Linked DNA regions of Homo sapiens: region 2 is linked to region 1. The links are contacts of gene promoters, found by promoter capture Hi-C in human tissues and cell types (Jung and others, 2019). All regions are on one chromosome and are shown on one strand. The core of a region is centred on a gene start or on the middle of the fragment in contact, and the rest is flanking DNA. Distances in the headings are between cores, read along the strand shown.

What was found. Contacts are between HindIII fragments. The study calls those that stand out against the background at their distance.
Region 2: a fragment that was not itself captured here is called in contact with the fragment with the promoter of UBR1 in region 1 in 1 of the 25 tissues and cell types used here (aorta).

The regions. Positions count from the first base shown.
Region 1 is chr15:43,103,626-43,108,559 of GRCh38, reverse strand. It overlaps UBR1 (ubiquitin protein ligase E3 component n-recognin 1), which reads left to right and starts at 2,522. Exons shown (of 47, transcript NM_174916.3): 1 at 2,522-2,618. The coding sequence starts at 2,538. RefSeq lists an enhancer at 2,424-2,703. The HindIII fragment of the contact is 7,070 bases long and covers 479-4,934 here.
Region 2 is chr15:42,784,573-42,789,506 of GRCh38, reverse strand. All of the region lies in intron 10 of TTBK2 (tau tubulin kinase 2), which reads left to right. Among named protein-coding and RNA genes, the nearest start is that of TTBK2-AS1, 48 kb to the right of the region's middle. The HindIII fragment of the contact is 4,613 bases long and covers 769-4,934 here.

The DNA.
Region 1 (4,934 bases), core at 1,273-3,772:
ATAACCATCTGTTTTTGCACCACTTAATAAACAGTCCGGCTGGGCGTGGTGGCTCACACCTATAATCCCAGCACTTTGGGAGGCCGAGGCGGGCGGATTACCTGAGGTCGGGAGTTTGAGACCAGCCTGACCAACATGGAGAGACATCGTGTCTACTAAAAATACAAAATTAGCCAGGCATTGTGGTGCATGCCTGTAATCCCAGCTACTTGGGAGGCTGAAGCAGGGGAATTGCTTGAACCCGGGAGGCGGAGGTTGTGGTGAGCTGAGATCACGCCACTGCACTCCAGCCTGGGTAACAAGAGCGAAACTCCATCTGAAAAAATAAATAAATAAGCAGTTCATAATTTCCTTCTCACTTGAAATGCTGTTATCTTTCATGTGTAAAATACTTGAATTTGGTATAAAGTAATAAAGTGAAATGGATAAGAATAGGGCCTTGTGAGTCATTTGAACTGGATTTTATTTATTATTATTTTTTGGTAGAGGTGGGAGTCTTGCTATGTTGCCCATCTCAAACTCCTGGGCTCAAGTAATCCTCCCGCCTTGGCCTCCCAAAGTGCTAACATTACAGGGGTGAGCCATTGTGCTGGCTGAATATCTGCTGTGTCACTTGGAAGCTGCATGTCCCTAACCAAATTATGTAACTTCTCTAAACTTCAGTTTTCTCAGTTTCTCATGACAGTAAAATAGAAGTAGTAACATCTACCTAAAGGATTGTTATTAATATATAGCTAGTGTTATTAATATACTAGTGCTTTGATTACATTAAGATGTTGATAAGTGGCTATTATTTCTTTTTATTTTCTGTTTTTTCTTTTTCTTTTTTTTTTTTTTTGAGACAGAGTTTTGCTCTTGTAGCCCAGGCTGGAGTGCCAGTGGCATGATCTTGGCTCACTGCAAACTCTACCTCCTGGGTTCAAGCAATTTTCCTGCCTCAGCCTCCTGAGTAGCTGGGATTACAGGCACCTGCCACCACACCCAGCTAATTTTTGTATCTTTAATAGACATGGGGTTTCACTGTGTTGTCCAGGCTGGTCTCGAACTCCTGACCTCAGGTGATCCACTCACCTTGGCCTCCCAAAGTGCTGGGATTACAGGCGTGAGCCACTGCCCCGACCTATTTCTGAACGTTCTAGTCTATTTCATTTATCTAGGAATGAAAGAAGAAAAAGAGAAGAGCGTGGGGTAGCATAAGAGAACTACAGAAGTAAAAGCATAGAGACAGGAAGGGACAAGGTAACTTTTAGGGCAATTTTTATCAAAATGTGGGACAATACCTATTGTGGGTTATAGTATCACTTTAATAACTACAACCAGTATTTTGGCTTAAATGCATAAACATATTGCAATTGAATAGAAAATATGACATATTGGAAGTATTGTTTCAGAAAATTTAAGTTTCAGTATATATATACATATTCTATATATACCCATTTAATTTTGTATAGGTGTACCGTGATAAGATGTAAAATGTATTTATTGTGGTTGTTGGGCAAAAAAGGCTGGAAAAACAGTATTTTAGCACCCAGGAAGTAGTTCATTTGAGCAGAAACATTGTTTAGGCAGGAAAGTTCTATAAATCAAGGTGGACCACAGCATTTGGAAAGCCTCCTCTACTTTTCACATTGTTTGGAGCTTTATTTTCTTCCCTTTGTTAAAAATATACTTTAAAATTATTTGTTTTGTAAAAAATTTAAAATACAAATGAAGGTAAAGTAGCTCTTGACCACCTTCTTCCTCCAATCCGAATCCTGGCCCTCAGAGTTACTACTTTGCCCTTTCCCCTTTCAGACTTACTCCTTCACATTTAAATGCCTATGTGTGCAAATATATAGTTTGCAGCAACTTGGCTTTTTTTTCTCTCAATTTATCTTGATCTTTTCACGCAGATTTATCTTGCTCAAGAGCTGCACAGTATTTCAAAATGCGAATGTACCATAGTATATCTTGTCTTTCCTCTATCGATGAATGACTAGGTTTCCAATTTTTTGTTATTTCCCCCCGTGTCCCCCAATAAAGCTGGATCCCGAGCTTTTTTTGTACACATGTGCAAGTGCCCACGGGGTAGAATCCTAAAAATAGAAGATGTGTGAGTACTTTCTTTTTCATTTTGTAGGCTCTGGGGAACTACTGCAGGGAGGTTGGGATACAAAACATCCCCAGGCCAACAACCGGCCAGCTAGGACAGGTTCTTGCTTTAGCCCCCGACAAGTTTTCTTCCTTTCATAATGGACGCTGACTTTGTTTTTTTTACCTCGTAGATGCAACAGTTCCCAGCACCAAACCCAGATATACAACCATTCAGCTACCAAGAGCTACGCCTGATAAATTAGAGGGGAAAAAAAAAATCTCCAGTCCCTTCACGTCGTGACGCTTGCTTCCGGGAAGCGGGCCGGAAGCCACTCCTCGAGTCTGCGTCAAACCCGACTTCAGGGGCCGTCGTAAAAGTGTCGTCCCTGTCTCTCCGACCGGCCACAGGTTTCCGCTTGCCTCTGGCCGGGGGTCGGCAACTGCAGGCGTCAGTTTCCCTCAAGATGGCGGACGAGGAGGCTGGAGGTACTGAGAGGATGGAAATCAGCGCGGAGTTACCCCAGACCCCTCAGCGTCTGGCATCTGTAAGTCCCTATAGGCAAGTCTCTTTTGTCCTCCCCCCGGTCCCTCCCTACTGCGCTTAGGAGGATGTGGGGCTTCACCCCTTATGGCGGCTCTGGGGAGGGGGAGTTATCTGGATTGATCTGGAAGGAAGCCACCGAATAAAAAGTTAGTCGCAACCCACATTTCTGCCAGCCAAGTCTACGGAATATAATGACTTTGTTATGTATTATTCTTGATGATCTCAAGTGTGCATGTCTCTATTCTGAAGTAGAAAGAACCAGTGATGTTATTAGACGGTTTGATGTGGGGGCCGAGGCGGGGTTGGAGCAAGAGCCATTTTCGTATAGAAGCAGTACTAACCCTTTACTCTTGATGATGGGAACGCAGCACCTGGTATTTTATTGCATAGCCTGCTGGCCGGGACCTGATATTGGTAGGTAGTGCTGCTACTGTCAAGTCATGTCTAGATGTGAGGTGTAGTAATTGTCCTTGCGTATAGCATCTTGGGAACCCCAGGCCTAACCCTCAGTGGAGAAACCCATCATCTGTCGCTACTTTTTAAAGGTGAAGAAAGGACTCCCAAACATTTCAAGCCAGAGCAATACCATTAATTGATGTCGGAATCTATACTTTGCTCTTGCATTTTGAAAGAATGGGAAGGCACAGATAGTGAACAAATTTGAGTCACTAGCTACAGGGAGAAAGCTGCCGAGGAAGATAAGAGTAGGGGGCAATGTTAGGGAATGTTCTGGATGCCCAGGGCATCTAGTGTGGAGATATGTAGAAAATATTCAAATATCTGTCACCGCATGATGTTTTATTAGTTTGTCTTTCTAAATAGCAGCATTTAGAGATTTGGGATATACACATTTTTTCTGAAGTTTCTTTGGCTTGTAGTTTAATAAAAACATTATTTTATTTTATTTATTTTTTGAGGCAGAGTTTTGCTCTTGTTGCCCAGGCTGAAGTGCAGTGGTGTAATCTCGGCTCACTGCAACCTTCCGAGTTCAGGAATTGAACTGCAAATTCCCGAGTTCAGGAATTCTCCTGCCTCAGCCTCTTGAGTAGCTGGGATTACAGGTGCCTGCCACCATGCTTGCCTAATTTTTTTTATTTTTATTTTTATTAGAGACGGGGTTTCACCATGTTGGCCAGGCTGATCTCGAACTCCTGACCTCAGGTGATCCACCTGCCTCGGCATCCCAAAGTGCTGGGATTACAGATTAAAAGCATTCTTGAAGGTTTTTTGTTTTTTTTTTTAACCCTGCATACAATTGAACATTGTTTTATGCGAGAACAGAGGGAACTACAGAGGGAGCTACGGCATGAGTCAACTCCAGGGACTGAAGAGACTGTCTAGGAGGTAGGAACAAGGTAGGGAGGGAGTTGGAAAAAGGATTTGGCCACTGACTATGTCAGTGCTTGCCGTTTTCCTCCACCCCAAATAGCAGTTCAAATTCACTTCACTACTGTTCCTGAAGGAGGAAGCATCTTATTTGAGATGATAAGGAATGAGGAGGTAGGACAAATTTAAAAGCAACTGAAACATTTTAATGGTAGTTTGTGAGTTTTGCTTGTTAGAAGGAGTGGGGAAACTGCTGTGGTCAGAAGAATTGTTATAGTTTTGTATCTGAAGACTAATATTTATTTAAAGCTTTGATACATTAATTTTTTCCAGATAATACAATAAAACCCCATCATTCTGGACGTCACTAATTTGGAATTGGAGATAATGATACAGGAATTGAGCTAGAATTTATGTGGCAACTCTTTACCTCAGGAAATATTATTAGATTTTGTTGGGCAGGGCTTTGGGTTTTGCAAAGTAGTAGGTAGATTGTGTAATATAGCCTCAAGGAACTCACAGTCTGGTGACACAGGTAATATAAGGGCCCAAATAATTTTAATTCAAGGTAGAGTAATGTCAGTAAATGAAGTCCTGTGACTGTTAAGCTTTATAACCCCTTTTTTGGCTTGGATCTCTCTGTCTACTGAAGACCCTACAGATCATTCTACCTCTCTCTTTCTCTTTTTCTCTTTTAAAAGCTATTACTGTTTTTAATTTTATTCTAGCCATGGTATGACACTGGCTTCCAAGTTTACTACTTTGCTGTTAAGCAATACAAGCTCAGTTGTTCCCCCTACTCCTTATTGTTTATCTTTAGACAAAGTTAAATAGTATGGGACATTTATAGAGGTTTAAGCAATCGTACAATTTCCATTAGAGTCTAATCCCTGGTTATAGTCTCTGATTTCCTTAAACTTCCTTCTTAGTCTGCAGATCCTTTTTCATTCATATTGCTATTAGTAAGCGTGAAGGCTGTAGTATTCCTAAC
Region 2 (4,934 bases), core at 1,826-4,325, 320 kb after region 1:
CTGCCTCAACCTCCCAAAGTGCTGGGATTACAGGCATGAGCCGCTACACCCGACCTTATTCAGCTTTTAAAAAGAAGGAGATCCTATCATTTGCCACAGCATAGGTGGAACTAAAAGACATGCTTAGTGAAATAAGCCAGACAGAAATAAAAATGTTGCATGATCTCATTTATATGTGAACAAAAAACATATATATATATATACACACACACACGTATATATATTTTAAAGCACTCAAATACACAGAGATTGAGAATGATACAGTGGTTACCACAGGGGGTTCAAGGAGGGAGGAAGGAAAGGAAATGGGGAGATGTAGGTCAAAGGATATAAAATAGCAGATATGTGGGATGAACAAGTGTGGAGATCTAATGGACAGCATAAGGAATAACCTTTATAAAATTGTATTTTCAGAAGTCTTGGACATAAATAAAAATAAAATTGTATTAGAGATTTTTGTTAAATAAGTAGATTTTAGCTGCTCTTTGTCACAAAAAAAGTAACTGTGAGTTGATAGGTTAATCTGCTTCCCTGTAATGACCATTTTACTGTCTATGTATATCCTATTACATCATGTTACAAAGCTCAAATACAATTTAAGGAAGTAAAATACTACAGCAGACTTAAGACCAAACACATCAGTCACAGCAATAAATATACATGGGGTTAACTCACCTATTAAAAGGAAAACATTTTCAGTTTGGGTTATATAGCTATATTCATATGCTGTGTATAAGAGACACACACCTAAAAAAAGTAAGAAAGAGATGGACAAAGATATATCAGAAAGATAGAAAAGAGAAGTGATCCTAATAACAGATGATGTAGAATTCAAGCCAAAACAAAAAACTTAGAAAAGATGGAAGGGCACTTTTTAATGCCAAATGCCACAATTCACAAGTGGGATACAAAATTTATTAATATTTAGTCACCAGAATCATGACACTCACCTTTGGGAAACAACAACTGCAGGATATTCAAGGAGACATAAAAACACACTCATAGTTGGAGATGTTAATGTACCACCCTCAGTTTAAGACAGATCAAGTGAACAGAGAATAGGAAGATAGAAGACTTAAACAGCGTGATCGTAGTAAGGTAGATCATATGTATGTTTTCTGAACTCTATACCTTGATGATAGAGACTATACCTCCTGCCCAGGGGCCCCTGGAACATTCACAAAAATTGATCAGGTATTAGGTCACAAACAAACATGTAAGTAGTTCCATAAAGTAGAAGTATTACATTATCTGATCACACTGCAAGAAAACTAGAAATTACCAACAAAATTAAAATATCAAAGGCCCTTTTACTGGAAATTTAAGAACCTATTAAACTACAGTCATGTGCCGTGTAATGACATCGCAATCAGTGATACACCGCATATATGACAGTGGTCCTATAAGATTACAATACTGTAGTTTTACTCTACCTTTTCTATGTTTAGATAATGTTATAATACCCAAATACTTAACCATTGTGTTACACTTGCCTCCAGTATTCAGAACAGTGACATGCTGTACAGGTTTGTAACCTAGGAGCAATAGGTTATACCATATAGCCTAGGCACGTAATAGGCTATACAATATAGTTTTTTTAAGTACGCTGTGATCATTTGGATAATGATGAAATTGCTTAACGATGGCATTTGTTAGAATGTATCCCCGTTGTTAAGCGATACATGACTGTACTCTTGGGTGAAAAGGAAAATAAAAACTAAAAGTTATAGAAAAAAATGATAATGTAAACACTACTTATCAGAATCTATGAGATAACTTTAGAACAAAGATCAGAGGAAAACCTATGGCATTAAACAAGGAGGTACATAATGTCAGTATGTCTCATTACTGATGATACTTATGTTGACAATTTGGTTACAGTGGCCAGTTCTTTCTACTATAAAGTTACTGTTTTTCTCTTTGTAAGAAATAATCTTGTGGGAAGATATTTGCAACTATGTCAGCACTGTGTTTCTTGTCATACTTTTCCTATTAATTGTAGCATCCATCAGTGAATCTTGCCCACAGGCCTAACCATTACTGTCTGCCCTCTAAGAAAAAGTTTGCCAACTTCTGATTTTTTTCTGTTTGCAAATGATATGGTAGAATACCTGGAGAATCAGTGTTAAAGAGAAAAATTTATAGTGTATGTCCCAGAACCCTGAATTTCTTCGTAGAGGGAGAATGAAAGTTTAGAAGGTAAGAGGACGCTTTAAATCATGAGCCAGCAAGCTTTATCTATAAAGGGTCAGATAAATATCTGTGAGCTATGCTGTCTCTGTCACTACTGTCATTGCTGTTATAGTGCAAAAGCTGCCATGGCCAACGTGTAAACAGACGAGACTGACTGTGTTCCAATAAGTCTATTAAAAAAAAATAGGTAAGCAGGCCAGATTTGGCCCACAAGCACTAGTTTGCCTTAGATTATGGGGAATGAAATATGAAAAGGATATTCGTTCTTACTATTTTTTCTCATATCTCTTCAGTTCTTCCACACATTTTCTTACTTATTCCCTTAATCTGCTTCAGTTATATAATACCTTGCCTGGAAACACAGACCATGTGCTAATAACACTCTTATGTATACTTTCTCACTCATTCATATTCCTGAACATGATATAATTTTCCTGGGAAGGAATTATTTCTTTCCATATTGCATACTCAAGATTTGGATCAGAGTTTAGGAAAAGAAACAATAACCAGGGAAGGAGAAAGGAATGGAGAATAAATGCAGAGGGAGGGTCTGGGTGGGAGAGGAACCTGAGTCCTATAAAAGAGAGCCTGTGTGGAGAAGATGGACGAGGTCCTTGGAGTGTGTGGTATCATATTGAAGCATAAGAGATAAGAGAAAAAGTAGGATTGAATGAAAGTAGAAGTGTATTCAGAGATGGAGGTGTGGTTTGTTTCCTGAGGTGTGAAAGAAGGAAATGCAAAGGAATTGAGGTAGTTGGAAAAAAAGCAGAATAGTGGCTAGACATAAGGGAAAAAGGGACTTGAAAGAATACTGAGTGATTAAAATGGAAAAAAGGTGACGATAATAGACTAAGCTTCTTGAGTTCAAATATTCATCTATTTCCCTTTCTCTTTCCTCAGGAATAGAGGGAATTCTTTCAATAAACATTTGGATTACCATGTAGTACATGTATGTTAGTGTCCATTATGACTCTTTTATCAATAAATAAATTATATTGAACTAATATCTGAAAAATCTGTTAGTAGCCAGTTTATTTCTGATCTTTAATTATCTCTATAATAAATCTGAACTATTGATTTGAACTATTTGAACTATTTTAGGCCAAACTACCTTTTAAATATGCTTCCACTGTCAGAACTACAGATACTACTTTACTAGGTTGTAAGTTTTTTTTTTTTTCTTTCTTTTTTTTCGGGGAGCCATTATCAGTGCTTTTCTAGATTATATCCTTGTAAATTGTTGATAAAGAGGTTCATTCTAGCATTGATCCATTTAGGCAAAGGTAGTGGTGAAGGTCATCGGTTACCAAGTCAGGTGGAACAAGTCCCTGAAAAATCACTGGTCTTCTCAGAGCATATGAAATACTCGTGACACCAGTGCCAGGATCTAACTGTGACCCTTAAAGTGGCTCACTGAGAGGATGTTGCCACTCACAGTAATTACAGGAGTCAGTATAATGTACTGAAGACTAATTTTTCTACTTTGAGACATTCCAGGTCACTTCTAAGAGGAGGTTTCATTGTGTGCTAAGTATTGTGTTCAGTCAGCAATATTTAAAAAAAAAAAAAAAAACCCTAGAATATAGAGTTACAGAACTGGCAGGAGCCTTTTCACTTGGTGAAGGAAAACTGTGAACTAGAAAAGCCTCTCATGGGAGGGTCTAAGGGAGCGATGACCAACCATATAAATAAGACCTGGAATTACTTTGAAAGAAATATATAGACAAATACCAATTAATATTTGCTATTTTTTCCCCCAGGTCAGTTCATGCTGAACTATATCAACTGTATAATTACAGAAAGTCTAGTTTCCCCTCTAGGGCAAGAATTTCCTTCCTCTTTGTGTTGCTAGGGCCTTGCATGTAGTAGGTGCTTAGTAAAAAGTCTGCAAGTGGCCGGGCACGATGGCTCACACCTGTAATCCCAGCACTTTGGGAGGCCAAGGTGGGTGGATCACTTGGGGCCAGGAGTTCGAGACCAGCCTGGCCAACATGGCAAAACCCCATCTCTACTAAAAATATAAAAAATTAGCTGGGCATGGTGGTGCATGCCTGTAATCCTAGCTATTTGGGAGGCCGAGGCAGGAGAATCGCTTGAACCCCGGGGGCGGAGGTTGCAGTGAGCAGAGATTATGCCACTGCACCCCAGCCTGAGAGACAGAGCTTGACTCTGTCTCAAAAAAAAAAAAAAAAAAAAAATCTGCAAGTGAAAAAGTAATACACATTTCACACTGTAAAAAAATAACATAGCTGATTGATCTGACACCTGTTTATTTCATTATGGCACTGCGAAAGTTGATTATACAAATTAGGTCATTCTTGTCATAGTCAACTAAATCAATCAAGAGGCCAGGGAGAAAGTACTTGGGGCACATAGCACCTGCTCCAAGAATTTAATTTCTTACAAGCCCAGCTGCTGAAATGGCCTGCTGTGACTCCAAGACTAAATTTACATACCTCTGTCACTCACCAGTCAGAGCCTGCCAGCTCCCAAAAGCTTCTCTGATGCCAATGAACTTTCTTTCAAAACAGTATATGACATCTCTCTAATAAAACCCCCAACCTCTCCTTTGGTCTTTAGATATACCAGAGACCCACTCAGTCTATGTGTGTGCCCCAAATTGTCATTCTTGCTTCCCAAATGGAATGTTAATTTGGAGATTCATCTCTGTATTTTATTTGGAGTTCAACAGCACTTAACATTTTCCTGTTTAGAATTTTTAAAAATTCTCTAACACGCCG